Linked DNA regions of Homo sapiens: regions 1, 3 and 4 are each linked to region 2. Evidence: promoter capture Hi-C in human tissues and cell types (Jung and others, 2019). All regions are on one chromosome and are shown on one strand. Each heading gives the region's core, a stretch centred on a gene start or on the middle of the fragment in contact. The rest is flanking DNA. Distances are from core to core; before and after follow the strand shown. Region 1 overlaps FAM193A (family with sequence similarity 193 member A). Region 2 holds the start of MXD4 (MAX dimerization protein 4). Region 3 holds the start of FAM193A (family with sequence similarity 193 member A). Region 4 overlaps FAM193A (family with sequence similarity 193 member A).

Region 1 (6,186 bases), core at 2,799-5,298, 370 kb after region 2:
AAAATAGAACAGGTGACAACTTTCTTTTCTTTTGACATAATATGGTATGTAGGTGAAAGGATTTACTATGTAAAATCCAGGAGCTGTAGTTTAATACATTTTACAACTCATTTCTGTTAGAGTGATGAACTCAAACTGGTTTCTCCTGGTGATGGGTTATGGACGAATTTTTATTATTACATCAGTGGTTTTAGGTTTCCATCTAGAGGCTCCTGGATTAAAATACAATTAAATTTAACCATAGCAATGCCAGTACTGTAGAATACGTTTTAAAATGTGCATTATCGGCCGGGTGCGGTGGCTCACGCCTGTAAGTCCCAGTACTTTGAGAGGCCAAGGCGGGCGGATCACAAGGTCAGGAGATCGGGACCATCCTGGCTAACATGGTGAAACCCCGTCTCTACTAAAAATACAAAAAATTAGCCGGGCGTGGTGGCGGGCACCTGTAGTCCCAGCTATTCGGGAGGCTGAGGCAGGAGAACTGTGTGAACCCAGGAGGTGGAGCTTGCAGTGAGCCGAGATCACACCATTGCACTCCAGCCTGGGCGACAGAGTGAGACTCCATCTCAAAAAAAAAAAAAAAATGTGGATTATCATACACATTTGTGTCAAAAATAATGGATTATCCCAAAGTTTGGCCTGAAATTCATGAAAATGCTCATTGCATTTGTGGCTTAGTCATGTTGCATGTATTTTTTTTTTCCTACTCTTCAGCCTACAAATTTTATTTTACACACCTTTATTGCTTTTTTGGTGGGATAATTGTTAAAAAAAAAAGATAAACTGTGTCTAAAGTTTCCTCTTTTGATAAGCCTAATACAAACCCATTTGGATTGTACACTGAACTTCTAGAAAGAAGGAAAGAGCAGGCTGCCGCAGATCTGCAGCCAGGTGGCACCTCTCCTGGGATCAGTGCTTTTTACTTGTTAACATATAAGCCTTTAAAAGAGTTGTCCCCAGCCTCGTGTCTGAGCATGTTGTCTGGGGCCAGCTGCTGAGAAGTGGTAGCGTGCTCTTCCAGCTGTGTGAGTTTACGCAAGTCACCCAACCTGTGTGGGCCAAAATGTCCCCTCTGTAAAGCAGGCACTGAACCCACACACAGCGAACTGAATTAGTGCACGTGCACGGACAGTGCTGTACAGAGAAAGCTCAATAAATGTCACTTGCTGTTCCCTAGTGACACTCTGTGCCCCGGATTCCCCATCCATTAGGTGGGGTGATTGTGCTTCTCACAGGTGGTTATGAGGAAGGTGACTGTGTGGTCATCTAGAGGTGGCCACCTGTGGAAGGGCTTCAGAAAAGATGCTCACTGACATCAGAGCACCCATGGGCCCTGGTGGGCAGGCCCTGGTGACCCTCTTCTCTGTGCAGGCTCTGCGAGAGGGACCCCTACCAGCTGTACCAGCGTCTGGAACAGCAAGCTCGAGAGTATGTGCTGGAGATGAAGGTCCGCCTGCTCCGGCAGCTGTCGGCTGCGGCCAAGGTGAAGGCACCATCTGGCCTGCAGGGCCCGCCGCAAGCGCACCAGTTCATCTCCCTCCTGCTTGAGGAGTACGGCGCCCTCTGCCAGGCCGCACGCTCCATCAGCACCTTCCTTGGCACTCTGGTAAGAGAGAAAACGTGTTTTTCTTTCTGTTTGGATGAGCTGAAGAGAAGCATGTGGCAAGAGGAAGCTTCTCACGCATGTGTGCCGACCTCGCTGTCACACCCCCACACACTGTGATAGGCCCCTCTTCTCTACGGGAGAGGACCTGTTTCCTCTCCTCTTTGTCTTTCCTCTGGACTTTGCCACTGGATAAAAGCATTGGGTGGATTGATAAGCAGGTGACACCTCATGGTAGTACTGTTTGGAGGACCTTGAGGCCCAGGGAACGAGGCATGGGGGCAGTGTGAGGGGAGCACTGATGTGTGCCTTTATAAGGAGACAGAGAAATCTCCGGTGTCTTACTTAGGTTGTTCATTCTTTCGTTGCTGTAGACAGAGCTGGTATTAGGTGAAATGCCCATGAAGAGCATGAAGGCTGTAGAGAACAGCTTGTTTACCGCCCAGTGGCGTTCATTCATTCATGCAGGCATGCATGCACTCAGCAAGCCAGCACTGAGTTAAGGATCTGCTTGCAGTCTCAAGACAGGCCCTATCACCATCCTTGCCAATGGGGATCTGACAGTCCTAACAAAAGAGACACACAGATGGGTCCGGTTGCCTCAAAAGAGGAATCACTACATTGGGTGGAAGGAGCATGGTATAGAAATATGGTTACAAGTAGGCTGCGGTCAATCCTCAACAGCCTCAGTGCCCCCACGCTTTGGAAGGAGACCAGAGACAAGCCCTCAAAGCTTCCTTGACTGTTACTAATAGTCTATGGAGTTTTTCATCACTTAAACTTTATTATTAAATAATACTTAACTGTATTTGGGTGCTAGTTTTGGGTGCTTTCTTTCTTTTAATAAAGAAAAGGAATTTATTTCTCATGGTTAGGAAGGCTGAGAAGTCTAAGTTTGAGGGGCCACATCTGGTGAGAGCTTTCTTGCAGGTGGGGACTTGGACTCTGAACAGAGTCCAAAGGTGGTACAGGGCATCACATGGCGAGAGGGCTGAGCATCAGTTTTGGGTGCTTTCTTAGTGGTAAACCTACATTTTGAAACAAATACAGTAAGCATTGGCCTTGGTCTTTATCTGATTCTCAAGTTGATGGACCCTCTTAGAAAAATTTACATACAGCCCGGGTGTGGTGGCTCATACCTGTAATCCTCGCACTTTGGGAAGCCAAAGTGGGAGGATCACTTGAGCCCAGGAGCTTGAGACTAGCCTAGGCAACATGGGGAGACCCCACCTATACCAAAAAAATTTAAAATTAAATTAACCAGGCGTGATGACGCATGCTACTCAAGAGGCTGTGAGGCAAGAGGATCATTTGAGCTCAGGGTTGAGGCTGTGGTGAGCCAGTGTACTCCAGCTTGGGAATAGAGTGAGATCCTATCTCAAAAAGAAAAGAAAAAATTACATACATGTAATTGTAAGTCATTTCAGGGGGTTCACAGACTTCCTCAAGCTTCACTGCGCCAAGCCATGGGGAGGTATCTATTCTGAGAAGAGGTAGCGAGGTGAATGGGTAGGGTGAGGGGTGGGGGTGGGGCAGGGGGGCAGTTATCCTGTTTCAAGGTCTGAGTCCACTGGGTAGTGCCACCAGGCTTCCTTCTGGTACCTCGTCCTTCCTCTGGCATCTCTCGCAGCACAGCCTCCCCGTCTCTACCTGAGAGTCTGCCTGCCCTTCAGAGGTTCAAATCCAGAGCCCCTCCTCTGTCTTCTACAAGAACACTGGCTCAGGTTAAGAAGGATGCTCTCCAGCCCACCTAAACCTGGTGCCCAGAGAGACTCTGGTAGTGAAGACAGCAGCTGTTGCTGCTCTCCAGAAAATGCTGGCGAGGTCTGCACCTCCTCAGATAGTTACTGTAGGATACTGTTTTATGAAGCTGACAAAAATTAATTTGAACCATATTTATTAGAGCAAATTCCTAGCAGTTGACATAGAAATAATTTCTTGTGGCTTGAGGCCGGGTGCGGTGGCTCACGCCTGTAATTCCAGCACTTTGGGAGGCCGAGGCAGGCAGATCACCTGAGGTCAGGAGTTCAAGACCAGCCTGGCCAATATGATGAAACCCCGTCTCTACTAAAAATAACAAAAATTAGCCGGGCATGGTGGCGGGCGCCTGTAGTCCCAGCTACTCGGGAGGCTGAGGCAGGAGAATCACTTGAACCCGGGAGGCAGAGGTTGCATTGAGCCAAGATTGTGCCAGTGCACTCCAGTCTGGGCAACAGAGCGAGACTCTGTCTCACACACAAAACAAAACAAAATAAAAAAGAAATAATTTCTTGTGGCTTGAAAAAAATGCATACACCCAGAAGCTGTTTGATTAGTGTCTTTTTTCACTTCCTTTACACATAGAAATACCCACATTGATTTCTAGGGGTCCAGCAGACTAGATACCCTTAACTATTCCTTCCTCCAAGGGAAACAACTGAATTTACTAGATAATAAAAAAATAAGCCAGGCGTGGTGGCTTACGGCTATAATCCCAGCACTTTGGGAGGCCGAGGTGGTTGGATCACCTGAGGTCAGGAGTTAGAGACCAGCCTGGCCAACGTGATGAAACCCCGTCTCTACTAAAAATGCAAAAAATTAGCCTGGCGTGGTGGCACGCGCCTATAATCCCAGCTACTTGGGAGGCTGAGGCAGGAGAATTGCTTGAACCTGGGAGGTGGAGGTTGCAGTGAGCCGAGATGGGGCCGCTGCACTCCAGCCTGGGCAACAAGAGCAAAACTCCGTCTCAAAAAAAAGATGAAATCTTTTAAAGTGTATGGCTGAGATGGCATGAAAGGGAGTAAGTCGTAGTGGTGAAAAACCAATTGAAAGCTGGAATCCTGAGAAATACATGGGCTTGAAAGTCAGCATTTGCTGTGGGTATTTCTTCTGATCCTGGGAGACAAGAGACAACCTAGCCCAGGATGGGGTCTGCACATAATGCTGGGACTGTAAGTGACGACACTAGTAAGGTTGAAGTGGAAACTCCGAGCACCGAAAGGGACAGCAGGGATCTGCAGCTCTCGTGGCCTTGGGGTGGAGATGCAGGGAGTACAGCTTCCCAGAGACTTGGTAGCTGTCAGCCAGCTGCCACATGAGCTGGAGTGTGAATAAATGTTGGTGTGGTATGAACAGCCCAAGCCTGGAAGTTACTTTACAGTGGTCCAGGATTGCTGGTAAAGTCAGGCAGCATGCAGATCACCTCTGGAAACCTTCAATCTGACCTCAGAGAATTCGAATAGATAAAATCCCCCCAAATGAGCAGCTCACAGTAAAAAAAGTCATAAAACACAAGGTTCATGACAGCACAGTTAAAAGCCAGCAGAAGCAGTAGACAGAATCACATAACAAAGATATTTAAATTTTCAAAAAAGAATATAGAGTAACTTTGTTAACTGTGCTTAAAGAAGCTTTGTAAAAGTTTGAAATTGGGAGTTAAGGATTAATACTCTAAAGAATGATAATTCAGATTTGAAAAAATATCAAAACTAGAAACAAAAACTTTTTTTAGAGATGATAGCTGAGAAATTCTCAGAATTACTGAAAAATACTAGTGTTCAGCAAGGAAACGTATCAGATTTCCCAAGTAAGATGTTGAAAAATCCTTCTCTGGTTATAGTATAATGACAGCTACAGAACATCAAAGAAAAAGTGATCTCAAACACAAAACACAGGACTTTGTTGAAAATGGTCTGTGAGATGTTATAATGTGTAATTCTGGATTCTGGGTAGAGACTACAATGAATCTATGTACTCCTTACCCAGATGCGCAGTTAATCAGCATTTTGCCACTCTGACTTCATTATGCCTTCTTTTTCTTCCACTTTCTCTTCCCTCTTTTTGATGCAGTATTTTAGTATGGGTCCCAGACAATGTGCTTTTTGTCTTAGAATATTCCAATAAGTGTCTCTAAAAATAGTCATCCATTATCTTCTGTAGCCACAGTTCCATTGTCACATCCATGAAGACTGACGGTAATAGTAATTTCTTACCGACTAATGCCAGCCAATCTCTTTTTATGGTTGGGTTATTCCAATCAGGACCCAAAAATCTTCACAAATTCATAGCCACATTATTACACTGCCATCCAGTGATCTATGCAGCACCAGCTTAAGATAAACTCGGTGTCTCAGGGCAGTAATTCTCAACAGTTTTGGACTTAGGCCCCTTTATACTTAAAAATTTAGGACCCCGAAGTGTGCTTTTTTATGCAGACTTACATCAGTACTTGCTGTATTGAAATTCAAACTGAGAAAATTTTTTAAATGCTTATTGTCATTTTAAAAATGTAAACTCTCATTAGATTACATAAATTGCATATTTTAACATATATTAGAGAATGTAACAAATAATACACTTTTACATTAGATAATGTAACATAAATTACATATGTAAAAATAACTATTTTCCAAAATAAAACATTGTTGCCCAGGCTGGAGTGCAGTGGTGAGATCTTGGCTCACTGAAACCTCTGCCTCCCCAGTTCAAGCGATTCTCCTGCCCCAGCCTCCCAAATAACTGGGATTACAGGTGCCTGCCACCACATCTGGCTAATTTTTTTGTATTTCTTTTAGTAGAGATGGGGTTTCACCATGTTGGCCAGG
Region 2 (5,794 bases), core at 3,122-5,621:
CCCCCACCTGGATGAGCTCTGGAAAGCAGGGCCTGGGCCTCCTGCCATCTCCTGCCTCTAGCACAGAGTGCCTGAAACAGACCTCAGCCTTCTCCTCCAAGTCTGACCATTCCCAAGACAAGGACACAGCCTGGCAGCACGGCTGGCCGTGCCCGGGACAGGGGCAGGCTCAACGCACCACACACCCTCAGTAAAAGGGTGGGCCAGGTGTCGGGCTCATGTGGGGAACTGGGGGGTCACTTACCTGTGCTTTTCTAGCTCGTTGTGTGAAGACCTGTTTAGAAAGACAGAAAGACAGAGCTCACTCTTCTGCCTGCCCACCAGGGCACAGAGAGCAGTGCTCTCCTAGGGGGCCAGGACCTGCAGACAGTGGCTGGCTGTGTCTGGGTCCTGGAATGGCCCAGAGCAGTGAGGCCTGGGGCAGGTGAGCAGTTGCCCACCCAGGGTGGGGGGAACCACATGCTAAGGGTGGGCGCTGGTTGTCAGCTTTGGGTACTCCGTGCCGGGGGAGCCGCAGCTCACGCCCTGGAGTTCTCCATGGGTCAGGGACTTGGTTTGGTGAGAAGCAGCAGCAGGGGCCAGCCTTGCTTACAGGGAGGCCCAGAGCTGCAGGCAGGTCCAGGGCGCCCAGGGCCACCAGCCCACCTAGCAAGGCCCGTGGTGAATCTGGCTGACAGGAGGACCTAGGCCCCCTTCCAGAGGGATGGGGGAGGCCCAGGGAGCAGCAACAGGTCCTGGCGCTGACCCCCACCAGCCACCTGCCTTCCCTGCTCCCCAATCCCTGAGGCCAGCTGTGTCCTTGGAGCCAAAGCAGCCTAGCACCCGGGACAAACAGCAGGTGGAGATGGAGCCCAGAGACCAGGCCCTCAGGACACAGGTGGTCCTGTCCTGACACCACCACTCTCTCGGGCTCACACACCTGCGTGACCACAGCCCACCTTACCAATGGGGACCAGGGACACAGCAGCGTCAGCCAGGTCAGCCCATGAGGGGGCTTCTGAGATGTGGATGCTTCCCAGGCCAGTAGGCACAGGGGGACACTGAGGCCAGCCCTCCCACTTCCCTCAGGGGCTGTGCTAGCAGGATGGGCTGCCCTGGAGGCCCGGGCTCAGCTTCTCTGGGGACAGTGGCCCCACCTGCTGCTCACCTGTCTTGCCCATTCAGACGCGGGCACACAATTCCCAGCACCACAGGGTGTGCCACAGCATCTGCCTGGAGGATAACGAGGCAGGGGGACCTCGCTCCCAGCTCCAGGCCACCTTCCGTGTCCAGGCAGGACCCCACAGGCCAGCCAGGGCTCCCGGGCCTCCCAGGATGCCGCTGCACAGGTGGGCAGAGAGCTCAGACTGCCTCGGGGCACCTCCAGACCCAGCCCTGAGGCCTCTCCCTGCCCTCAGGACCTGGCTCCTTCCTGAAGCTTCTTGCTGACCACTGCCTGCTTCAGGAACTTGGGATCTGGCGTCTCCTGTCCCAACCACTCAGGCCAAGGGCCTGCCCCTCCCACCCGCTGCACCAACAGGCCCTGGGCCTCCTTGTGTAGCCTCAGCAGAGCCTCCAGACCCAGGTCTCAGGGTCCGGGAGGGCCTGTTGGTCACATGGGCTGGACAAGGAGCCTCCGAATCACTGCCAGGGCCAGCCAGGGCCGACCAGGGCCAGCAGAGGCCACAGCCATATGCTCCTCACTGGCCTCACAGAGATAGGCCCCTACGCCAGCGTTTCTGCTTCCCCAGAATAGGCAGGCCGCAGGAATGAGCCGTACTCTCTGTCCTCAGCCCAAACTGCAGCCTGGCCACGTGGGTCTGTAGTCAAGAGGGAGGTCGGGGTCAGCAGGTGCCCTTCAACATAAAAGCCTACCTGCCTACCCCTTGAAGGGTGGCACGGGGCTGGACCCCACCCTGGAGGCAGGGGGCCCTCCTCCAGCAGCCAGGGCCCCTCTTGCAGCTCCTCCTGGGCCCAGAGACCCTTGGGGTCCATCGAGGGGGATGTTTGCAACATGGGTCCCAGGAGCACTCTATCCCTCAGGAGAGGTGGGACCTGTCCCCGCTGAGGCCAGGCCAAGTGCGTTCCCAGCATTCCCGTGACCCCAGGAGACAAGCACACTTCCCACAGAATGGACCCCCCTGCAGGCTGGCCCCAGTGCTCTGCCGCCTCCCTCAACCCTGACACTGTCCTCCGGCCCCACTCCCTACCCTTGCCCCAGCCTCACTGTGCCATGTCCCCTCCCTCACCTTGGCAGAGCATGGAAGCCTCACAGGTGGGGACAAGTCAGGGGCTCAGAGATCCTCTGGCCCCCTGCTCCGCCCAGCTACTTGTCTGGGCTGGCTGAGGAAACCTCCAGGGCAGTGCTGCCCACCCGAGGAAGGGGCCAAGCCGCCAGCCCTGGGCTGCCTCAGGCCCCGGGGGAGCGGGGCTCGGCCCAGAGGAGCCAGGGGAGATGCACCAGAGTTGGGGAGCCCTCTGTCTCCCTCACCAGTGCCCCCATGGTCTCTGTCCCAGCAGAATGTGGACAGCTGGGACCCCATCTCAGGAACAGGCGTCATCAGAGATGGGTGAGTGGCAGGCAAGTAACCAAACCTCTCCTTGCCTCAGTTTCCTTGGCCATAGAGATAAAAATCACATCACCTCTCTGAGCCTGGGGTGAAGATGAACTGGCTGCATGTGTGAAACGCTCAGCATAGAGGCAGTGTTCGGGCAGCCTTGGCCAGGACGCTGGTTGTCAGCTTTGGATTCTCCATGCTGGGGGAGCCCCAGCTCACGCCCCAGAGTTCTCCACGGGTCAGGGACTTGGTTTGGAGAGAAGCGGCAGCGGGGGCCGGGCTTGCTCACTGAGGAGGCCTGAGGCAATGGTTCCCTCGTCACACTCCTGTCCTTCCCCAAACTGTCCCCAGTAGGGGACCAGGGGCTGGGACTCAGGGACGGGTCCCAGCCAGGGCAGCTGGAGACTCAACCAATTCCTCGCCTGGCTCAGGATGCCACAGAAATGGGTCCCTACACCAGCCTTTCGGATTCCCTAGAACAGGTGGACCACAGGAATGAGCCATGCCCTGGGGCTCTGAAGCCCCCTACAAACGCAGCTCCCAGCCTGCTCACACAAAAGGGCTGGGCCAAGGTGGGCCCAGACAGGACCAGGTGTGCTATGGTCCTCACAGCAGCCAGGAGGGTGGAAATCCCCGGGGAGCCCCGGCCCAGGGTCCCCACTCCCCACGCGGGGGACCTGTACGCACCCCAGCTTCAGGGCTTCTGCTGCCTGAACACGAGGTCAAGGTATGGAGGGCGCAGCTGGCACCCGTAGTAACGACTTCATGGGGCCCCTGCCCTGCAGCCTGCCCCCTCCTCCCGCCCCCTTAAAAGGCCTCTGTCTTAAAAAAGAGGACCCCCATACTGGTGGCTGGAGTTTCGCTGTGTCAGGAGGCTGGGCAGAAGCGGTGGGCACCCTGGGAGGAGTGAGGGCCCAGGACAGCGCCTCCACTCGCTTCTCTGTCTAGGCTCCTGGGGGCGGGGGAAGGTGGCCGAGCAGCAGAGTTCGGCTGGCAGAGCCAGTCGAAAGGAGGCCGCCCACCCACCCGCGGAGAGAAGGGGTTAGGGCCGGCAGCCCCCGCAGACCCTGGCTGAGCCTGTTTCCCCAGACCCACGGGGCACCGGCCAGCGCCCGCTGACAACTTTTCTACCGCCTGGAAAAGTCCAGAACAACTCGGGGGCGGGGAGCGGGCGCGGGAGCGGACCCCGGCGGCGGGCGCTGTACGCGTGGCACTGTTTACGCGAGCGGCCCGGGAGGCGCGGCCGCGGGAAGATGGCGACGGCGAGGGCGGGGCCGGCCGGGCGGGGCTGCGGCCGCGGCCTGCGCGCCTCCTCCTCCAGGCTGGCCGCCGGGGCGCGCGGCGGCGGCGCTGAGGGCCGCGGGCCGGGAATCGGGGCCCGGAGAGCACGCTCCGGGCGGGGGCGGGGGTTCGGACCGGGCCGGGCGGGGTCGGGAGCGGGGGGCGGTACCTGTTGTTCGGGGCCTTGCGCACCAGGCCGGCCGCCTTTGTTTTCTCCCTGGCGAAGTCGCCGTCGAAGGGCAGCACCGAGGCGTAGCCGTGCTCGGCCTCTGCGGACACACGGCGCGGTCAGCGGCCCCCGCCCGGCACGGCCCCGCCGCCCGCCCACCGCCGCGGGCGCACAATGGGGTGCGAGCGCTACCTCGATCCCTGCGCTCCAGGTACTCGGCCGCCTCCAGCAGGATCAGCAGGGAGTTCAGCTCCATCCTCCCGCCCGCGCCCGTCCGCCCCGGGACGGCGGCGGCCGCTGCCCGGCCCGCTCCGGCCGGCTCCGCTCGCCGCCCACCCCGCGCGCCCGGCCGCCGCACTTCCAGACTCCGCGGACTCCGGCGCTCGGCCGCCACCCTCCGCCTCAGGCCCTCAAATTGACACATAAGGGAGAGCGGCGGCCCGCAGAGCCAATGGGAGGCGGCGTTCGCGCCCCGGGGGCGGGCGCCGGGCCGGGCTGGGGCCAATGGGGACGGGTCGAGCGCCTCGGGCCGGGCCGAGAATGTTGACAGATGCAGAGCTGGGCTGGGATAGGCCGGCCGCGCTAGTAACAATTTAGAAGCCCGAGCTTAGCAACAGCACGTGGTGGCCCGGCCCCCGCGCTAGCTGACTGGCGGCCGCCGTGCATGTTAAGTAGGCGCCGCGCGCCGATTGGCCAGAGCGGCCTATGTAAAACAGGCACTGCGAGCCAATGGCCGGTGGCGGGGCGCGCGGCCAATGAGGGCGCCGCAGCCGGACGCGTTGCCGAGAGGAAGCGCAGCGCGCGGGGACCGCCCGCCGTCCTGGGGGCCCGTTAGGACGCAGGAGCGTCTCCGCTACGAGAGCGAAGCAGGGCGCTCCGGGGCGTGCGCCGGGCCGGGCCGGGCCGCCGGGTCTGAGCGCGACGAAAGCAGTGGCTGCGTGGGGGGACGAGGCCTCGCGCTCTGCCCGGGGGTCTTGCGTGGGGCCGTGAACGACTCCCCTCCCCGCCGGGCGCAGAGTGGCCCCGGGAAGGGCCGGGACCTCGGAGAGGGACGCAGACGCTCTGATCCTAAGAGCCAGGCGTCTCTGAGGGTGTCAGTGGGGAAACAGGCCCAGAGCGGGCGGGCTCCTCAGATCGCCCAGTGGACGCCGGAGCTGAGGGAGGGCCCAGGTCTGGGGAAGGGACACAGACGTGCGGCCAGAGTCGAGAGGCTCCCCGGAGTGGGGGGCTGCATGCTCTGTGTCTGGCCTGAGGGGCAGGGACGTTCCTAGAGGCAGGCGCTGGCCACCTCTGGCCGAGGACGCCCTAAGTGGGGACGGGAGTGAACCCTTCATCAAATCCCAGCTGGCGGGTCTCCCTAGTGACCCCTGACCCTAAGGCTGGCCCAGACTGGCCTCGGCACCCCCCACCCTCTCGCAGATTTTTTTTTTTTTTTTTTTTGAGACGGCTCTGTTGCCCAGGCTGGAATGCAGTGGCGTGATGTCAGTTCACTGCAACCTCCGCCTCCCGGGTTCAAGCGATTCCCCTGCCTCAGCCTCCCAAGTAGCTGGGACTACAGGCGCGTGCCACCACGCCCAGCTAATTTTTGTATTTTTAGTAGAGATGGGGTTTCACCATGGATGGTCTGGATCTCCTGACCTCGTGATCCGCCCGCCTCGGCCTCCCAAAGTTCTGGGATTACAGGTGTGAGCCACCTCGCCCGACCCATCTCACTGATTTGATTTTTGAGGTTGGTGGCCTGGATGTGCCAAGGGCCAGGCCCCGCAGGCTGGAGAGTGTGGAGGCATAAGGTGGCTGGACCCCTCCA
Region 3 (6,314 bases), core at 3,407-5,906, 280 kb after region 2:
ATAGTGAAAGCCCCATCTCTAATAAAAATACAAAAAAAATTAGCCGGGCATGGTGGCGGCTGCCTATAGTCCCAGCTACTCGAGAAGCTGAGGCAGGAGAATGGCGTGAACCCGGGAGGCGGAGGTTGCAGTGAGCCACGTCGCGCCACTTCACTGCAGCCTGAGTGACAGAGCAAGACTCTGTCTCAAAAATAAATAAATAAAATAAAAATAAAAAAAATAAAGTGGTACTTATCTTTCTGTGCCTGGCTTTTTCACATCACATAATGTCCTGCAAGCTCATCTATGTTGCAGCAAATGACAGAAATCTGGGGGTTTTAATGGCTAAATAGCATTCCAAAAAATTGTGCTCCCTTGTGTATATAGCATTTTATCAGTTCATCTGTTTTTTTTTTTTTTTTTTTGAGGCAGAGTCTCACTCGATCTTGGCTCACTGCAACCACCACCTTCCAGGTTCAAGCAATTTTCCCGCCTCTGCCTCCCAAGTAGCTGGGATTATAGGTGCTTGCCACCACGCCCGGCTAATTTTTGTATTTTTAGTAGAGATGGGGTTTCTCCATGTTGGCCAGGCTGGTCCCAAACTCCTGACCTCAGGTGATTCGCCCACCTCGGCCTCCCAAAGTGCTAGGATTACAGGCATGAGCCACCAGGCCCGGCCTGTCATTATTTTTATTCTTTTCTTTCTTTCGTTTTGTTTTGAGTTTTTGAGACGGAGTCTCGCTCTGTGGCCCAGGCTGGAGTGCAGTGGCTTGATCTGGGCTCACCGAAAGCTCCGCCTCCCAGGTTCACGCCATTCTCCTGCCTCAGCCTCCTGAGTAGCTGGGACTACAGGCATCCGCCACCAGGCCCGGCTAATTTTTTGTATTTTCAGTAGAGACGGGGTTTCACCGTGTTAGCCAGGATGGTCTCAATCTCCTGACCTCATGACCCGCCCCACCTCGGCCTCCCAAAGTGCTGGGATTACAGGCGAGAGCCACACTGTGCCCGGCCTCTTTTTTTTTTGACGGAGTTTTGCTCGTTGCCCAAGCTGGAGTGCAATGGCACTATTTCGGCTCACTGCAACCCTTGCCTCCCGGGTTCAAGCGATTCTCCTGCCTCAGCCTCCCGAGTAGCTGGGATTACAAGTGTGTGCCACCATGCCCAGCTAATTTTTGTATTTGTAGTAGAGACGGGGTTTCGCTTTGCTGGCCAGGCTGTCTTGAACTCCCGGCCTCAGGTGATCCGCCCACCTCGGCCTCCCAAACTGCTGGGATTACAGGCATGAGCCAAGGCACCCAGGCCTAATGGTCATTATTGTCATTCATTGATTCAGCAAATAGTAGAGTGCTGGGTGCTCAGCCTCTTGCTTTGCAGTAGCTTGGGTGTCAGAGGTGTGTGAGGCAGGCATTCTCAGGTTCTCTCCTGCCCAATAAAACCTTTTGTCTTTGGGGATACTGGTGACATCATGAATCCCAATCCTGTGCAATGTGCTATGACAAAGGAAAGGACAGGGGTTGAGGCAAGGGGCAGGGACAGCCTATGACACTGAAAAAGAGGCCAGAAACGCATTCCTACCCGCTCTCTCAAAATCCATGTTCAGTGGCAGGATCATCCAAGACCCTGATGGGGCGGGGGGCCTTTTTTCGTCTAGGATGGTATCTGAATGGCTTTAAGGGTAGCTTTCTTCTGATCACATGAGATTTCTGCTTGTGTCATGAAGAATGGGTCAGAGGATCAGGAGGCTGTGGCTGCAGCTGGGGCGGGTTGCGGGGACCCAGGACGAACAGTAGAGCTCGGTTAACGCTGCAAGGGGAGCCTGGCAGGCCGTACATCCCAATGCCAAGCCCGCCGCCTCTCGGCCTGACACCACCGGTGGAACCAAAAAGGGGAAATCATGTCCTTTGTGCCTCTGTGTCTGTGGTAAGCGGGGCCCTCCAGGGGGCGGAGCCGCCGGCAGGGTCCCCCCGTGGCCCGGGTCTCAGGGCAGAGCTCTGCCTGGGGCTCGCAGATGTCTGCAAGGCCGCGGAGGGAGGAGGGTCCAGACGCAAGCCCTTATTTCTGATCTGGACGTCTGCGAGGGTCTGACCCGGCTAGTCGTCCCCGAGGTGCGTGAGTGCGAGGGTGTGGGACACGGCCGGATCGTCCTAGGGCCCCGTGGATTAGCAAGGCACCGGGACCACTGGAGAGGGCTTAACGGGATAGCAGGGAGAGGGCGGGCTCGGGAAGAGCACCCTTTAGGCGAGGGGTTCTCGGGGAACCGACCGGCGTGTCCCAGCCCCAGGCCCGGTCCAAGATTCGCCGGCTCCGCCGCTGCCTCCGCACCCAGGCGGACCCCACCGCACCGCGCCCGGCTTTCCAGCGCTGCCCGAACCCCCGCCCAGCCCACGAGGCAGGGATTCTGTGGTCCTCACTGAGTCATCTGGACCAGAACTAGACTAGCCCAAGGTCACCGGGCGTTCCTGGCGAGGCCAGGGCCGCGCCGCGCCGCCCCTGGTGCATCCCGGGAGCCGCGCCGGTCTGCGGCACCTGGGCGGCGGACAGGGGCGCGGGCGAGGCGGGCGGGGCGGGCGGGCAGCGGACACCGGTCAGAGAGGCGGAACTCCCTGCCGCCAGCCGTGTAGTTTGCCTCGCGGGCGGCGGCGCGGCCTCCTGCCGGCCTAGCCCTACGCCCGACCACAACGCCCAGAAGGCCGCGCGGCGCGGGCGGGACCTGCGGCGACGAGCGAGGCGGTGACATCACCGCCGCATCCAGCTCCCTGGCCCCAGCTCCTCCCAGCGCCCGGGCCCTCGGCCTCGCAAGGCCTGACGGGAATCGTGGTCCACCCCCGGGTACCCCCAGCTGCTGCACGGGCAGCACGGACTTCAGTTCCCGGCGTGTCCTGCGCGCCGAGGCACGTTAACGGCAGGAGGGGGTGGGCAAGCAAAGGGAAAAGCAGAGCCGGGGGGCGGAGTAAGGCGGGGTGGGGGTGGGGGGTGGGGGCCCACACCCCTCCCCCTCCCCGCTGCTCCTTCCCCCTCCCCCGACGTAAACTGGGATCCCTTTCCCCTTGTGTCCGCCATATTGGACTCTAACTCTGGTCAGCCGCGGCGCCGGGACTGTGGACTCGCGGTTCCTCCCGCCCAGCGGCCTGCCCCGCAGCTCCCGCCCGCCCCAGCCCTCCCCGACCCGGACGCGACCCCGCGCAGCGCCCCCCGGCTGGCCGGAGCGCCCGCCGCCGCGGCCGCCTCAGCCTCCCCGCCTTCCCCGCCCTCCGCCGCCGCCCGCGGCCCCCGCGCCCGCTCTGCGCCCCTCTCCCCGCCCGCCATGAGCCCAGCCGACGCCAAGCGCGGGGCCAAGCGCCGGAAGAACAAGCGGGGCGGCGGCGGCGGCTCGGGCGGGGGTAACGGCGGCGCGAGCAGCGGCAAGGCCGGCCCGGCGGCGGCGCTGCGCGGTTCCCAGGCCGCGGGCCTGGCGGCCCCGGGCAGCGCGGCAGGCCTGGTGGGCGGCGCGGCGGCGGCCAACGGGCCTCTCGGCGCGGGCGCGAGCGCGGGCGGCGCCGCCCCCGGAGGCTACTTCGAGGTAAGCGGCGGCAGCGGGCAGGGGTCGATGGCGGTACGCGGTTGCCGTTCCCTCGCGCCTTGGCGGAGCTCGGCCTCCCGCTGTCGGCCCCGGGCCTGGGAGCGGGATGCTGCGGGCGGGCGGATAACGGGTCCTGCGGCGCTGCGCTTGCCGAGGTCCCGGGGCAGGGCGGCAGGTGGGCCGTGCTCGGCGTGACGCGGCCTCTGTCAGCCTCTTGAGAGGAGAACCTGAGCAGAGGCGGCGGGAGGGCTACACCGGGGCCGCCGCTCACGGCGACGGGCTGGTCCGCAGGCTGGAGCAGCCCCTCAACGGGCGGGGACGTCTCCGGGGTGCAGCTCCGCGCACGGCGCTTCGCCTTCCGCTGGACCCGGCGGGTGATACCCGCGAGGCCCGGGCTTCTGTCGTGGCGCCTCGCCCGCTGCGGCGGTTCCAGAGCGACTGCGATTCCGGGAGTGAGCAAAGCTGCCCTTTCGCTCCCAGGGCTTTGAAATGTTTCTCTGGCCACCTTCGTTATTCCGTGCGCGTGATGATTGAGAAGGGCCTCCCGGAAGTTTTCCTTTGGTCCTCCTATGTGGTTATTTGAAATCTACCTGACAGCCACCTGGAGCTGGCAGCCCTGGCCCCTCCTCCCCCGCTTTGTTAAGTTTTCAGGGGTATTTAGTGGTTTGGTTACTCAGGTATGTATTTAGGGTTCGAACTTAAGGAATTTGAAAGGTGATTTTTTTCAGTTTTGTTTATGAAGACAGCTAGCACACATTGCACCTACCAATTATGGATTCCTGCCACTTTTATTCAACCGTTGGTCACAACATTTCAGAGGGTACACTATTTATAAGTGGGTATGCAATTGGCGCAGTCATTTCCAGTTATCCCATTGTCTGCTGAAAGAGAATAGATTTTTTTTGAAAAGTTGCGTTCTTATAATGTTATTTAAACTCTTAAATTATGTAGTTTTAAAGATATTGCAATTAAAAAATGAAAGAAGCGTTGGGAGTATTTTTGTGCTAAATCATGACACAAATTGTTCTTTTTTTTTTTTTCTTTTGAGAACGGAGTCTCGCTCTGTCGCCCAGGCTGGAGTGCAATAATGGCGCGATCTTGGCTCACTGTAACCTCCGCCTCCCGGGTTCAAGCGATTCTCCTGCCTCAGCCTCTCGAGTAGCTGGGACTACAGGCATGCGCCACCATGCCCGGCTAATTTTTGTAGAGACAGGGTTTCACCATGTTGGCCAGGCTGGTCTCGAACTCGTGATCTCAGGTGATCCGCCCACCTTGGCGTCCCAAAGTGCTGGGATTACAGGTGTGAGCCACCGCGCCCGGCCGTTTTTATTATTATTATATTGTTACATTAGGGTCTTGGGCTGTAGTCCTGGACTTCAGTCTCCCGAGATTGCCCTCATCCAGTATCCTGGAGATCAAAACAGGCCGCAGTTCTTGGGATCAAGGATGAGTCTTGAGCGTTTGGATCTTTGGGGTTTTTAAGGGCAGTGTTTGCTGCTGTCGGGTAGGGGAGGGCGGGGGGGGTTTGCCTGTGCATATCCTTACACAAAATATTGATAATTTTTGGTGTAGCTGGATGTGGAATATATTCATTTCTATTGATTCAATAAAAACCAGTTGGTGGCACAATAAAATTCTTAGTTTTAGCCTTTCATACCATTTCAAGTTTTAATAATTTACATTTGCTTTGCAATACTTAGGTAAAATATAACTTTATTATTTTTATTTATTTTTTTTTGAGACAGAGTCTCACTCTGTCGCCCAGGCTGGAGTGCAGTGGTGCGATCTTGGCGCACCGTAACCTCTGTCTCCCGGGTTCAAGCGATTCTCCTGCCTAACCCTCTCAAGTAGCTGGGACTACAGGTACCTGCCACCATGCCTGGCTAATTTTTTTTGTATTTTTAGTAGAGACAGGGATTCACTATGTTGGGCAGGCTGGTCTTGAAGTCCTGACCTCCTGATCCACCTGCTTTGGCCTCTCAAAGTCCTGGAATTACAGGCGTGAGCCACCGTGCCCAGCCCTGCCTTTATTATTTTTGTCGCGTTATTCAAAATCAGATAACTGTATGCCTATTATTATTAAGATAGGGTCTTGCTATGTTGCCTAGGCTGGCCTTGAGCTTGTGGGCTCAAGGGATCCCTCTCATCTTAGTTTTACTAATTACTAAGGGCACAGACCCTTGCCACTGTGCCCACCTGAGTATTATTTTTGACAGGACTGTGATATTCTGTTAAACTAGTATGCATCAGGGTTTTGTTGTTTTAAAAGAGACACGGTCTCTCTCTGTTGCATAGGCTAGAGTACAGTTGCCTGGTCATAGCTCACTGTAACCTCCAATTTCTGGGCTAAGCAGTCCTTCCATGTAGCTAGGCCTCTAGGTATGTGCCACCATGCCTGGCTAATTTGTTCTTTTAATATAGATACAGGGTCTCACTATGTTACCCAGGCTTGTCTTGAACTCTTGACCTCAAGTGATCCTCCCATCTCTGCCTCCCAAAGTGCTGGGATTACAGGCCTGAGCCACTGCACCTGGCCTATCAAGGTTTTTGACCATGACCCACTCTTATGACCCACTCCAAGAAATAAAATCCGTTAAGATCTAGGAAACATACACATAAACACAAAAATTTCACAAAACATTTTAGGGCCGGGCACCGTGGCTCATGCCTGTAATTCCAGCACTTCGGGAGGCCGAGGTGGGTGGATCACCTGAGGTCAGGAGTTCGAAACCAGCCTGGTTGACAGATGATGAAACCCCAGAGATGGTGAAACCCC
Region 4 (6,287 bases), core at 474-2,973, 320 kb after region 2:
TAACGTTCTCTGTGCTTCTTGGATCTGCAGTTTGGTGTTTGTCATTAATTTTGGAAAATTCTCAACCGTTATTTCTTCTGCTGTTTAGAGTTGGCCTCAGTTTATTATTTGCTGTGTGTTATGCAGCACAGGCTTTGAATGTTTGTAGAGGCGGCTTGGATCTAGGATGAGGAGTGTTTTACCATGGCAGTGTTTGAAATTCTGTCTTAAGTCTTCTTTCTTTGTTGTATTTCACAGGAGGTTTCTTTGCATATTCTTCTCCCAGTTGTATTCTGCTGTTGGCTGTTGTTTGAAGCTTTTTGACTTGGAAGTGTGTAGCGGTAGTGAGATGCTGCCTCCTTTTCTGGTTAAGGCTCAGTTTTTTGTTGTTGTTATTTTTTGAGACGGAGTTTTGCTCTTGTCTCCCAGGCTGGAGTGCAGTGGCACGATCTCAGCTCACTGCAACCTCCACCTCCCGGGTTCAAGCGATTCTCCTGCCTCAGCCTCCAAAGTAGCTGCAGGCACCTGCCACCATGCCCAGCCAATTATTGTATTTTCAGTAGAGACAGAACCCTGTCTGTCTTTGACCACATTGGCCAAGCTGGTGCCAAACTCCTGACCTCAGGTGATTTGCCTGCCTCGGCCTTCCAAAGTGCTGGGATCATAGGCGTGAGCCACTGCGCCCGGCCAAGTCTCAGTTTTAGACATGTCTGGTAACCCTGGATTTCAGAGGTGCAGCTGTCTCAGTTCTTCTGCCTTTTCCCTGGCTATAATTTTGGACTCAGTGTGTAATCCTGCCCCTTTTGCAGGACTAGGTCTCTCCTGTCCCTCTCTTCCCTTCCCCCTGCTGCCCCCAAATTAGGACTTTTGTTTCTGAGTGGAGATTGAGAGGAAGGATTTGAGTGGAATTTCTTTCCCCTCCTTCCTGGCTTCTGGTCCCCTCCCTGAGTTCTGCGCTACTGTCTTTGCTTCTTCGGGCTCTTTCAGATCTTTTCAGTGATTGCCTCATGAGTGCCACGGAGAAAGAGCCTGCAAAGTAATGCAGGCTTTCCCAGTTTCTGCAGTTGCCAGAAATTGTCCTGACAGCCTGTACTCAGCCTTTCGCAATTTGTCTTTTATTCTTGCTGAACTCTTCTTACTAGTGTGTCTGATTGTGTCTACCCCAGGTGAGTGTATTTGTTTTCTTTCCCTGAAGGCACTTAAGATTATGGGCCAGTGTTTGTTCTGTAACCACAGCTCTCCAGCAGGTTCAGAAACAGTCATGGATATGAAGTTAGTCTGGCTGTTTTGCACTGTAAGGTTGAGCATTATGCTGTCCCAGGTCTCTTCATCCTAGGGCAGAAGACAGAAGCAGCCATGTCTTGAGGAACAGAAGTTTTTTGGTGTAAGTCCAGTTTACCAATTTTTTTAATGATTAGTGCTTTTGGGGTCTCAAGAGATCTTTGTCTACTCCAAGGTTGGGAAAACCTTCTTCTTTGTTTTCTTCTAGAGGTTTTATAATTTTAGCTGTTATATATAGGTCTGTGATCTATTTCAACTTAATTTTGGGTATGGTGTGAGGTGAAGTTGGAGGTGTCCCCCACTCCATATTCATATCCAGTTGTGTACCATTTATTGAGAGATCTCTCCCTATGGAATCACCTTGTTCATTTGTCCTTTAACAATGTTCTTTAAACAACATTTCTTAAAAAAATTAGCGGTGCTTGGTGGCTCGCACCTGTAATCCCAGCTACTCAGGAGGCTAAGCAGGAGAATCGCTTGAACCTGGGAGGCAGAGGTTGCAGTGAGTGAAGATTGTGCCACTGCACTCCAGCCTGGGCGACAGAGTGAGATTCCGTCTCAAAAAAAAAAAAAAAACACCCATCTCTAAAGAATATTTCTTACTGTTAAATACTATAAAAATGCATAAAAGTAATGTACAGGTTTGCAAATTAATTTGACCCCTGGTATAAGCACCATTCAGATAAGGAAATAGAACATTACCAGGACTCCAAAAGCCTGCTAAAGGCTACTACTCGATTACAGTTTCCTTTCTTTTCCTTTCGTTAAACATACTAAATGGCAGGGTGCGGTGGCTCAAGCCTGTAATCCCAGCACTTTGGGAGGCCGAGGTGGGCAGATCATGAGGTCAAGAAATCGAGACCATCCTGGCCAACATAGTGAAACCCCATCTTTACTAAAAATACAAAAATTAGCTGGGCGTGGTGGTGTGTGCCTGTAGTCCCAGCTACTCAGGAGGCTGAGGCAGGAGAATTGCTTCAACCCAGGTGACGGAGGTTGCAGTGAGCCGAGACCGTGCCACTGCACTCCAGCCTGGCGACAGAGCAAGACTCTGTCTCAAAAAAAGGAAAAAAAAAACAAACCAAAACTAAACATCCCAACACTATAGTTTTGCCTGTTTTTGTACCTTATATAAATGGAAGCATCCATACTGAATACGGTATATAACTTGTCTCACCCAACAATATTTGAAAGATTTATTTGTTTTGAACTTAGCTATGGTTTATCCATTTTAATTCCTGTATAGTATTTCACCATATAGATGACTGTTCATTCATTCTACAGTTTATGGGTTATTTCCAGTTTGGGACTGGCATGAATACTCTTGTACATGTATTTTGGTGCATACAGGACTTAATATGAGGAAAGATAGATATCCAGAAAAGGAATTACTGGGTCATAGTCTACATGTATTTTCACAGTCTTCATGTAATGCCTATTTCCCAAAGTGGTTATACCTATTTTCACTCTACCAGCAGTGCTTGAGAGTTCCCATTGTTTCATGTTTTTGGCTGAGCGTGGGTTTTGTCCTAATTTTTTGTTTCAGCCTCTCTGGTGGGTAAATGGTGGTACTATGATTTAATTTATCTGTGATATCTGTGACATATGTTTATGTCTATGGACCATTTGGGTCATCTGTTGTGAAGAACCCGTTCAAGTCTTTTGCCCAATTTTTTCAGTCAAGTTGTATATCTTTTTCCTATTTTTCTCATTTTTCACTTTTTTTTGTCATTTTTTTCATTTTCTTAATGTTTATCAAATAGAAGTTTTAAATTTTAGGCTGGGCATGGTGGTTCATGCCTGTAATCCTAGCCCTTTGGGGAGGCCAAAGTGGGCGGATCACCTGAGGTCAGGCGTTCAAGACGAGCCTGGCCAACATGGCAAAACCCCGTCTTTACTAAAAAATACAGAAATTAGCTGGGTGTGGTGGCGGGCACCTGTAGTCCTAGCTGCTTGGGAGGCTGAGGCAGGGATAATTGCTTGAACCTGGGAGGTGGAGGTTGCAGTGAGCCAAGATTGTGCTACTGCACACCAGCCTGGGTGGCAGAGTGAGACTGCATCTCAAAAAATAAATAATTTTTAAATAGTTGAATCTGGGCTGGGTGGGGTGGCTCATGCCTGTAATCTCAGCACTTTGGGAGGCCGAAGCTGGTGGATCACTTGAGGTTGGGAGTTCATGACAAGCCTGATCAACATAGAGAAACCCCATCTCTACTAAAAAGACAAAATTAGCCAGGCGTGGTGGTGCATGCCAGTAATCCTAGCTACTGGGGAATCTGAGGCAGGAGAATCACTTGAACCCAGGAGGGAGAGGTTGCAGTGACCTGAGATGATGCCATTGCACTCCAGCCTGGGCAACAAGAGCAAAAACTCCGTCTCAAAAAAAAAAATATATATATATATAGTTGAATCTGTTGATCTTTTCCTTTATGCTTTAGTGCTTTTGGTGTCTTGAAAATGTTTCCCTTTACCCAAGGTCATGAGGATATTATCCATCATCTTTCACATTTAGGTCTATAATTAAAGAATTGATTTTTGTGTATGGTGTGAGATAGGGGCCCAGTTTTTTTTTCCCCCCGGTTTGGGTATCTAGTTGTTCTGTATTAACTTCAATTTAAAAGGCCATTCTTTCCATAGTATTGTAGAATGCCATCTTGGTTATAAATTTAGTGTATGTGTTTCATACCTTGGTTATAAATTTAGTGTCCGTGTATCATACCTTGATTCTATATTCCTTCGTCTACTTTTCTATCCTTGAGCGGCCAGTACCACACTCTCTGAATTATTATAGCATTTGTTGTTGTTGAGAACAGGGTCTTGCTCTGTTGCCCAGGCTGGAATGCAGTGGCAGGAGGATGGCTCATTGTAGCCTCAACCTCCTGGGCTCAAGCAATCTTCCCACCTCAGCCTCCTGAGTGGCTGGGACTACAGGTGCATGCCACTATGCCTGGCTTATTTTTAAATTTTTTGTAGAGACGGGGTCTCCCTCTGTTGCTCAGGCGGTCTTGAACTCCTGGGCTCAAGCAACCCTTTCACCCAAGCCTCCCAAAGTGCTGGGATTACAGGAGTCAGCTGCCATGCTCAGCCTAGTATAGCTTTTTAATAAGCCTTAATAGGCGTTCTGTATTGTTCTTCATGAATGTTTTGGTTATTCTTGGCCCTTTATAATTTTATGTGCTTTATGTGAAATTAAACTTCTGTATCTTAGTCCGTTTGTGTTGCTATAAGGAATACCTGAGGCTGGATAATTTTGCTCCTGGTTCTGCAAGCTGTGTAAGAAGCATGGTGCACAGCATTTGCATCTGGTGAGAGCCTCAGGTTTTTTCCACTTACGGCACAAGGTGAAGAGGACCCAGTGTGTCCAGATGACATGATGAGAGAAAAAGCAAGAGAGATGGGAAAGGAGGTGCCAGGCTGTTTTTAACAGCTAGCTCTCAGGGAACTAATGGAATGAGAACTCACTCAGTGCTGGAAAGACAGCACCAAGCCATTCATGAGGGACCTGCCCTCATGACCCATGCACTTCCCATTAGGCCCACCTCCAGCACTGGGTGTGGTGGCACGTGCCTGTGGTCTCAGCTGCTCAGGAGTCTGAGGTGAAAGGATCGCTTGAGCCCAGAAGTTCGAGACTAGCCTGGCGACCTAGCAAAACCTCGTCTCTGCTAAAAATACAAAAATTAGTTGGGCATGGTGGTGCATGCCTGTAGTTCCAGCTACTTGGCAGACTGAGGCAGGAGGATCACTTGATAGCCCGGGTGGTGGAGGTTGCAGCGAGCCAAGATCGTGCTACTGCAGTCCAGCCTAGGCAACAGAGTGACCCTGTCTCAAAATATGTAAATAAAAGAAAAAGAAAAAAATTTTGAAAAGAAAGAGCTGGGGTGGACAACTCTGAAGGAATTCACTGAAAAGGAAGGAAAAGATAGGCAGTGAGAGAAGCTGGGGCAGAAGTGCTACTGAGAGGAGATCGTTGTGTTTCTTCAGAGTGGGAGACAGCATATTTGCATCCTAATGGAAGTGATGCAGGAAAGAAAGAGAAAGTGATGATATGAGAAGAGGACAGAATCAGTGGTCCTCAAGTGGCGACAGGGTGGGGTCTGGTTGTGAAGAGCTAGTTGGAGGACATTGGAGAGGAGGGCACAGGCGCAGGTCTGCGGATGTGTGGGAGCTGTGAAAACTACTGCCAAGTGCTTTTCCAAAAGATTGCTGGTGCTCACACCACCCTCAGCAGTCTGTGAATACCCATCTTCCTTTATACTCCTCAGCACAGAGTCCATGTCCCTGTTCTTCCCTCCTGGGCACCCTGCTCCGCATTGACGGAGCTCGAGATCCCCACATCTACTCCACTGCTCCCCTTCCTCTCAACTTCCATCATTAGGCTCAGGGACCTTGGCCCTTTCCCTGTGTCCTGCCGTGAAAGTTCTGGTGCCTCTTTACCTTAAGTCGTCTCCTCATCTTTTGACTTACATGGACCATAACATTTTTAGTCATCAGCCTGGTGACTTAGCTTTATCAACATTGTATTATGGGAAGGAGAGGATTCTATAAAAAAGCAAGTATTGCCTGTGGGCCCCACTGTTTTAGGTCACTGGCTAGCCTCTGGTTTGGCTGTCCTTGGGTCAGATGCCTCCCTGCTGCCAGGGGAGCACAGGTGATGGTGATGGATGAGGGTCTGATGATGGGGACCTCCCCATCAGCAGAGGTGTGGGTGACTTGGGGCTTGTCGGGTGTGCAAATGGCTACTTTGGATTTGCTTCAGGTCACTTAATTTTGAGATGCTACCTACCTATTCCATGTGTTGTCTCTGAATAAAAGCCACTTTCAGCCTCTGTTCTATTTAAGTAGTTTTATTTTTCTCTCTGGTCATTTCTGGGTATTGCTGTAAAGACTGTTAATACCTTATGCAAAATGACTGGTTACTGTGATTTTTCAGGACCTTCAGAGATTGAAGGGTTACAAACTGCAGTGTGAGAAGTTAGTAGGCCTTTGATACCAACTTTTTATTTGACCTTAGTAGATTAACTTTACTT

What was found. Contacts are between HindIII fragments. The study calls those that stand out against the background at their distance.
Region 1: a fragment that was not itself captured here is called in contact with the fragment with the promoter of MXD4 in region 2 in 4 of the 25 tissues and cell types used here (H1 embryonic stem cells, IMR-90 fibroblasts, dorsolateral prefrontal cortex and 1 more).
Region 3: a fragment that was not itself captured here is called in contact with the fragment with the promoter of MXD4 in region 2 in 1 of the 25 tissues and cell types used here (dorsolateral prefrontal cortex).
Region 4: a contact is called between a fragment that was not itself captured here and the fragment with the promoter of MXD4 in region 2, in 1 of the 25 tissues and cell types used here (dorsolateral prefrontal cortex).

The regions. Positions count from the first base shown.
Region 1 is chr4:2,629,564-2,635,749 of GRCh38, forward strand. FAM193A (family with sequence similarity 193 member A) reads left to right here. Exons shown (of 21, transcript NM_001366318.2): 5 at 1,372-1,606. Among named protein-coding and RNA genes, the nearest start is that of FAM193A, 96 kb to the left of the region's middle. RefSeq lists enhancers at 929-1,430, 1,431-1,930. The HindIII fragment of the contact is 4,088 bases long and covers 2,005-6,092 here.
Region 2 is chr4:2,257,738-2,263,531 of GRCh38, forward strand. MXD4 (MAX dimerization protein 4) reads right to left here and starts at 4,372. Exons shown (of 6, transcript NM_006454.3): 1 at 4,180-4,372; 2 at 3,988-4,087; 3 at 245-274. The coding sequence starts at 4,243. RefSeq lists enhancers at 2,899-3,491, 4,723-5,384, 5,385-5,794 and silencers at 3,592-3,651, 3,662-4,051, 4,142-4,201, 4,252-5,091. The HindIII fragment of the contact is 28,165 bases long and covers 1-5,794 here.
Region 3 is chr4:2,533,633-2,539,946 of GRCh38, forward strand. FAM193A (family with sequence similarity 193 member A) reads left to right here and starts at 3,015. Exons shown (of 21, transcript NM_001366318.2): 1 at 3,015-3,538. The coding sequence starts at 3,284. RefSeq lists silencers at 1,899-2,058, 3,429-3,718, 3,769-3,928, 3,930-4,224, 3,969-4,018 and 3 more. The HindIII fragment of the contact is 7,680 bases long and covers 817-6,314 here.
Region 4 is chr4:2,582,606-2,588,892 of GRCh38, forward strand. The region is part of intron 1 of FAM193A (family with sequence similarity 193 member A); the gene reads left to right. Among named protein-coding and RNA genes, the nearest start is that of FAM193A, 49 kb to the left of the region's middle. The HindIII fragment of the contact is 8,650 bases long and covers 1-6,048 here.